2 separate regions of the Homo sapiens genome follow, and region 1 is linked to region 2. Evidence: promoter capture Hi-C in human tissues and cell types (Jung and others, 2019). All regions are on one chromosome and are shown on one strand. The core of a region is centred on a gene start or on the middle of the fragment in contact, and the rest is flanking DNA. Distances in the headings are between cores, read along the strand shown. Region 1 overlaps ENPP3 (ectonucleotide pyrophosphatase/phosphodiesterase 3). Region 2 holds the start of ENPP1 (ectonucleotide pyrophosphatase/phosphodiesterase 1).

Evidence for each region. Contacts are between HindIII fragments. The study calls those that stand out against the background at their distance.
Region 1: a contact is called between a fragment that was not itself captured here and the fragment with the promoter of ENPP1 in region 2, in 2 of the 25 tissues and cell types used here (H1 embryonic stem cells and IMR-90 fibroblasts).

What each region holds. Positions count from the first base shown.
Region 1 is chr6:131,723,383-131,727,327 of GRCh38, reverse strand. ENPP3 (ectonucleotide pyrophosphatase/phosphodiesterase 3) reads right to left here. Exons shown (of 25, transcript NM_005021.5): 19 at 3,237-3,288; 20 at 1,128-1,282. Among named protein-coding and RNA genes, the nearest start is that of CTAGE9, 14 kb to the right of the region's middle. The HindIII fragment of the contact is 4,940 bases long and covers 1-3,945 here.
Region 2 is chr6:131,806,014-131,809,854 of GRCh38, reverse strand. ENPP1 (ectonucleotide pyrophosphatase/phosphodiesterase 1) reads right to left here and starts at 1,835. Exons shown (of 25, transcript NM_006208.3): 1 at 1,580-1,835. The coding sequence starts at 1,819. The HindIII fragment of the contact is 10,154 bases long and covers 1-3,841 here.

The DNA of each region.
Region 1 (3,945 bases), core at 1,040-3,539, 83 kb after region 2:
TGCCTCGGCCTCCCAAAGTGCTGGGATTACAGGCATAAGCCACTGTGCCTGGCCCTAAGTTTTGTTTTAATTTACATTTTCCTTATTGCATATTCCTGAATTGTGATTCAATTGCTTGGCTCCTATCCTTTGTTCATGTAGTAACTAAGATGCTTGTCATTCTGTTGTTGATTGGTGGAAATTTATTAGCTATTCTGAATCTAATTACTGTTCTGGATACTCATAACTTGTTTCTTATATGCAATGCAGATATATTGTTCCATCTACAACTTTGTTATTTTGTCATACATTAATGTTTATGTAGTCTAATCAATTTCCTCTGCATTTTTAATGTTGTTCTTCTTGTCTCCTGAGAAAGCCTTCTCTATCACAAGATCATAAAGATATGCACAAAGGGAATATGGACTTGCGGTTCCTATTTAGGTCTACAAATCCACCAGAAATTTAATTTTGTGTGTGGTGTGAGGTAGGGATCTACTGTTTTCTTCCTGAAGGGTAGTTGACTGTCCTGGTACTACTTAGTGCAAGAGAATATGCCAGACAGTGAAGAGGGAAGGGGCTTTAAACAAGTGGACCTCAACCTCAGCCTGGAGATCTGTGACATAATGCATTTGTCCCATGTAAGTCTAGTCTGACTTACTGGAGTGCCAGATCCTTCAGAGAAGAACTATGCCTATTCACCTTGTATATTTGGTGCCTACTATAACACACAACAAATAGTAAAGTACTTGTTAAATAATCAAATAAATACAAAGCCCTTTATAATCTAGTTATCATCACCTTCTACATGCACCCATGATGTACATGGGGAATCTTAAATGAATAGTATTCCTCTGTACTTCCTGTTGCTTCTGTTTAAAATGTCCTTTTCTACCTGCCTTACCAATTGGCCAATTGGCCTGTAAACATTTTCCATTTTCTCCAGGTAAAACACAATGTGTTCCTCTTTTGCACCCGTGTAGCACCTATAACAACCTTTATCTAATACTTGCACATTGTCTTGCAAGCTACAGGCCAGTGAGTTCCCTCCCTTTGAATCTCTGCTGCAAAACAAAATTCAACTCTTAGAATATGAAAGGATTATAAATATTTCTTGCCTGCATGGATCAATGGACTCAGGAACTTACCAACTGGGGGACTGTGTATGAACTCCACATGGGCATCCTCATAGCTTTTCCAAATCCACTGACATATTCCCTGTGGTAAAGGAGACAGTGGTCCACGTTCTTCTGCAGTACCCTAGGCCTCCCAAATGGCAAATTTACTTTCACTGTTGCTGTTACTAAAATTAAAATAACATAAAATAAAAAGGTTCATGAAATTAGCAAATGCTTCTTTGCATGTAATAACTACCCATATAATAACTACCACTCTCTTATGGCTTATTATATGACAAGTACTCTAACAAATATTTTACATATTTAACCTCTTTCAATTCTTACAACAATCCAATGTATAATTATTAAAAATAATAATAATAATATTGGTGTTATTACTCCATTTTACAGATTATAAAACTAAGGTTTACATAAGTAAGTTGGCCAAGCAAGAGCCTAAGCAAGGATCTGAAGCCTGCCCTCTGTGATTCCTTACATTTTACAGCTCAGAGGATATACATGAAGAGGTAAAACCTTCAAAGTCAAAAGTACATACTTTGTAACAAAGATGACCTAGTCTAGTAATTGTCATAGGGAAGATGTTGGAATTTTATAAACTTATGTCTTATAATCAGAATGTTTATGTGTCTCTAAAACGTATACATTGAAATCCTAATCCCAAAGGTGATGGTATTAGGAGGTGGGACCTTTAGGAGGTGATTAAGGCATGATATAAGACCCCCATGAGCAGGATTAGGGCTTTCATCAAAGACACCCTAGGGACACCTTCACTCCTTCCACTATACGAGCTCAGAGTGAGAAGAAGGCCCTTTATGAGGAATCAGGCCATCATCAGAAACCAAATCTGCTGGCAACTTGATCTTGGGTTTCCCAGCCTCCAGAACTATGAGAAGTAAATTTCTGTTGTTTATAAGCTACCCAGTCTATGGCATCTTGTTATATTAGGTTGGAGCAAAAGTAATTGTGGTTTTTGCCATTACTTTTGAGACCAAGTCTTGCTGTGTCACCCAAGCTGGAGTGGAGTGGCATGATCTCAGCTCACTGCAACCTCCATCTCCTGGGTTCAAGTGATTCTCCTACCTCAGCCTCCTCCTGAGTAACTGGGATTACAAGGGTGCACCATCATGCCCAACTAATTTTTTTTTTTTTTTTTTTGTATTTTTAGTAGAGACGGGGTTTCACCATGTTGGCCAGGCTGGTCTTGAACTCCTCACCTCAAGTGATCTGTCTGCCTCAGCCTCCCAAAGTGCTGGGATTACAGGTGTGAGCCACCATGCCCTGCTGTTTTTTGCCATTACTTTTAATAGAAAAAAACACAATTAATTTTGCACCAACCTAATAGCAATTGGAATGGACTAAAACAACATTCTAATGTATTTATTTACTTTTACTTGCATGCTTCTTAAAAATCCATCAATTAGTGATGGATAAAAAACCTGCAGGCTATTCATGCCATGGAATAACACTTGGCAGATTATAAGATTATCAAAACAACTAGTACATTTACTAAGCTCTTAACTGTAAACCAGGCACATATATTAACTCATGTAATCTTCACAGCAACTGTATAAAGTAGGTATCCCCTTATAAGCGATGAAACTGAAACAGAGTGAGTTTAATACAAGAATACTTAAAAGATAACAGGTAATAATAATATTGCTACAGGCCAGGCACAATTGTAAATTCTTTCCATGTATTAACTTTTTAAATTTTTACAACTACATGAGGTGAGTACGGTTATTACAGATGAGAAGACTGAGGCACAGGGAGGCTAAGTGATTTGCCCCAGCTCACACAGCCAGGAAGCACCAGAGGTAGGACTCAAACCCAGGCAGCTCAGTCTGCTTACATCTAAGGAAAGGAAACAGAGGACTGCAGATGAGTCACAACCTCTTCAAGGAATTCGTTTTGTTCCTGGAACCACTGGAACTACCCCATGCTTGTACTGTTGTCATTATATCTGTTGTGAGTTTTTTTTTTTTTACCTTTTGTATATTGGCAATAAAATCTTTATGTTCAGGAACCTCTGTCAGCTTATTTTGGAGAGTCCTAAAAGGGCCACATTGTGTTTTGTTAGGTCTAAATATCAAAGACTTAACATGTTTTCTATTGACTTACTTTCTTCTTGGGTGAGATTTAGCATCTGATTCACTTGTTCCAGCTGAGTACTCTGCAAGATAATGAGGGATGGGAAAGGGGAGGAAATAAGTCAAAGCAACAATATGTGTTTTAAGGGGTAATCAAGATTGTTTCTGTAGTAATCGATTAAATGTTATACTGCCAAAGAAGCTAGCCTAACTTAAGATTCTGATTCTGCCACTATTCAGAAATATAGAGACACTACTGCTCCCTATTGTGTGTGTGTGTGTGTGTGTGTGTGTGAGAGAGAGAGAGAGAGAGAGAGAGAATTTGCAAAAAGATAATTGATAATGGGGCAAAGCATTCTGATTACTGCTGGAATCAATGACTAAGTTGGGTGACAACATCCCAGTGCTCCTTAAGCTTTAATATGCATACAATCACTTGAGGGTTTTGTTAAAATACGGATTCTGGTTCAGTAAACCTAGGGTAGGGCTTGAGATTCTGCATCTCTAACCAATTTGCAAGTGATGCAGATGGTGGTCCTGAGACCACACTCTGAATAGCAAGAGGCATTCTTTACATAGAACTTGGGGTTTGCAGCCAGATAGAACAAGCTTCTCTGGCCTCGAACAATTTATCTAACTTCTCTGAGCATGTTTTATCTCTAAAATGAGAAATAATATACCTAGTAAGTAATGTTATTATTATTTTTTAATGGCAGTTTGATTGAGGTTATCAGGAGCAG
Region 2 (3,841 bases), core at 586-3,085:
AAGACTGGACAGCTTATTCCAAAACTAGACCTTTGCTGATATCTGTTGTGGATGTATAAGTAAATGAGCAAGAAAAATTTAAAACCTGAATTTTGCAATTGGAAAACCTGTAAAGGTTTATAGGCATGTAGAAATGGTTTTACACAAGAGTTACACACTGATTCCATATACAATTATCGACTACCTCATCGTGTGTGAAACACCTCAAGGTATTAATACTAAACAATTTAAGTGATCAGGTTGTAAAAGCTAAGGTCTTCCATTAACAAAATTTTTAAAAGGTGACTCAAGAGACTAAGTTCTCATCAATATTGTGTTATTATAGACTCAAAACAGTGTTACAAGATGCAAAATTTTATCTTGAGATGCAAACATCATGTGGCTTGGGGTACTTATTCTGTGAAACTAAGGCTTCTTTTTAAGTACTAAGCATACGGCACCATCTCTTAAGTCTAGGAAGATTGATTCCTCAAAGTATTATAGCATCTCCATGATGTCCCAAATATAGTGAAAATGGAAATGCATACAAAATGAAAGGAGACTTGAAAAATTAGAAATTTTTCTACAAAGCATTATTCAATCATATGTAAGGGGATATATTTTAGGGTACACTATACATAGAAATCTGTGATTTCCATATAATACAATAAAAATGATTCTATTTCCTTGCTGTTTTCAATTTACTTCCCTACCTACATTCTTCAGCTTGATTTTCACAATAATCCCATGCAATGCACAAGGGAGTTGATGTTGTCCCATTTTCACACATTAGAAATTGAGGTTTAGGGACAGTTACGCAAGGCCTCAGCAAATAATAACAGCCAGGAATCCAGGCCTTCTCTCAATCAGCACTTCCCACCATGAATTCAGAATAAAAACCAACCCCCACATTTCATGAAGTTGACTGTGGGTCCTGCAAATGTCATAGCAAAATAGCAGAGGAGTAATAGGTAGCTTTTGTTAGCAACACAAACCGTGTAGCCTCTGGTTAGAAGAGTGGGCAAAGAATCATAAAGGTTTCTTCAGTCACATAATGTGAACATCCATGGAATTTCTGAGCACCTGCAAGGAAATTCCAAAACGGAGCGAAAGGGAAAAAGTGTTCCGTAGAGTTCCTAATAAAACTTAAAGAGCTCCGCTAACTCTTCAACTGCAATCAGTTAACCCAAGTGAAGTCATGTATACTGCGCCCAGAGCCCCCTAAAAGAAGCAACACATTGATGCACCTTCTTAAGACCAACAACTTTCGCGTTTGACATTTTTCTCCTCTAAAAACCCGTACTCTCCTGGGGCAGGGGGTCGAGTATTTCTAAGGATGACCGTTTTGAACAGCCTGCTTTCACAGGCATCCATAATTCAAGTGAGAGTGAACCATCCTGCCCTGGCAAGGTACCTGGCAGGGGCGGCTGTGTAGGGCACTTGCAAAGGCTGCGGAGGAGAGCGCGCGGGCGAAGAAGCACTCCCGGACCATGCCTCTCTCCGGTGCCCGGTGCTGACTGCGCTGAGAGCGCAGGAGCTCGGCGCCGCCCTCCCCGTACTCCCAGCCCTCCCGGGCGCCGGGGCCTGGCCGCGGACCTACCAGCGAGAGTACTTTATAGGTGTTGGGGTCCTTGGCAGTGCGGGCGCGCGCCGCCTTCTCCAGCGGCTCCTCCCCCACGTCCATAGGGGCCAGCAAGGACGCGGCCGCCTGCGGGTCCCCGGGCGCCTCGGCAGCGTGGCTGCGGCCCCGATCGCGGCCGTTCCCCGCCGGGCCCTCCCGGGGAGCGCGCCCGCCCTCGCCGCCGCGGCTCCCGCCCCCCGCGCAGCCGTCGCGCTCCATCGTGGCCCCGGCCGCTCCGGCCCCGCTGCCCGGCCGCGCCTTTAATAGGCCCCGCGCCGCCCGCCCCGCCCCGCCCCTCCCCGCCGCGCCCGCCCCTCGCGGTCAGATCCTTGGCTCCCCGCCCTACACCCGGCTCTCGCAGTCAGGGCAAAGCGACTCAACGCCCCGGATTATTTGGCTTCCTGTCTGATTTCGGGCACTCTGTGTGTCGGTTATTTTGGGTCCCTTACGTGGGCGTGTCTTAAACTTCCCCCCAAGCCGTCCCCTCCCCGCGCCCCGGCCACCCTCCCGACACTTGCAGGAATCGCCCTGCGTGGCCTCGCGGCGCGGGCTGGGCTGGAATTGCAGCGTGTGGTCTGCAGAGGGCATGAGATCATGGGGCCCCAAAATAGAGCGGGGAGGAGGAGAAGGATGCAGCCGCCGATGCCGGTCCGGCTTCTCAAAGGCGGGAGAGAGTGGAGTCTTGGGGTCGACCTGTGAGTTTCTGGATGGAAATGCAAATGAACCATGGAGGAAGGCGACTTTCTGTTTCTCCCCCTCTGCGCCCCGTCCCCCACTACCTACGGTACTCTGAGAGAGAAATCGTCCACTTAAAATACGTGGGTTCACATGTACTGAACACACGTAAGGGATATTTCGATTCCCACGGTTTTATGTGGTTTCTGGAGTCTTCTCGCTATTGTTTGTATGTATATTTGCTTATTTTTCTAGACTTTCTGTATTGAAGGTTTCAGGAGTTGGCGTTGCCCTCTCCTGAGGTTGACACTGATACCTAGCTATATCAAAAGTGTTAATGCAATCTGAAATACTTTGATAAGCCTTATTTTTCAACTAGGACGCTAACAGTGAGCTGATTCTTGGTGGGTTTTGTTTTACCTTTGATTCTGGAACTTGTACATTTTCTGGCTCATCACTTAGCAAAATCACCAGTGTGTAGTGAAGTGAGACAGAGGGAAACCAGTGACTTCGAACTACTTTGCAATACCCAGGACTGACTTCAGGTACCAAGGAAAACAATTAATTTTCAATACATTTTGAATACATGAATATATACAAGTGTTTACAAATGAGAATGAATGTTTAACAAATATAAAATGCATGTTATCCCTTTAAAATAGTCAACTTGGGATGCTCTTCATTTATACTGACTCATCCATCCACCCATCCATTTATTCATCAAGTAATGAATCCTTCAACTCAATCTTTTGGCCTCCAACTATGCATACCATATAAAAAATGAATTAAAATGTATCTTTCCTTAAGTGTGGTGGAAGCGGGGGTGGGGGGGTAGGACCAACTCGTAAACAAAATAATTAAAACCTAAGTCATATATGCAGAATAGAGTCACACATAGGATATTGATACAGGAGATAGAAATTATTTAGGCAGATAGTATGAGCAAAAGAGCCCTCGGCAGAACTTACCTTCTAACAAAAAGCAGCCCAAGAAATCACTTCCTTTCTAACAAAGAGCAACCTGGAAGATTGGGCTGCAAACATAGGTAAGGAAACTGGAAGCTTGCACGGGAGATGCCGGCAGCGGCACAGACAGAAGGGGCTACTGGGGCCAGGCATGTCCACCATGGGGGTTCCACCTCCCCTCTTTTTTACCACATGCACAGTAAGAAGGAAATAAGCAACACGGAGTAGCTACCTGCCTATATAGTAGAAGATTGGGGCCGGGGCTGCCAGACACTTAAGCCCTATGCAGATGACACACCTGGTCCTAACCGGGTTTTCATGCCATATGCACGAAACCGGGTTTTCCCTCCTTATGTAGATCAGACACCGCCTCCCCACTAGCTCATCTATAAAAACCCCTGCATTTCACCACGTATTGCAACCCATTTTTTGGGACCCCTCTCTGTAGCAGAGCTATTCTCCTCCTTTTGCCTATTAAAAATTCTGCTCCAAACCTCACCCTTTGTGTGTGTCCACATATTTGATCTTTGTGGCCGTGAGACCAAGAACCTCGGATGTCACCATAGACAACAAAGCTACTTCAATATTATGAGAGCTTAGT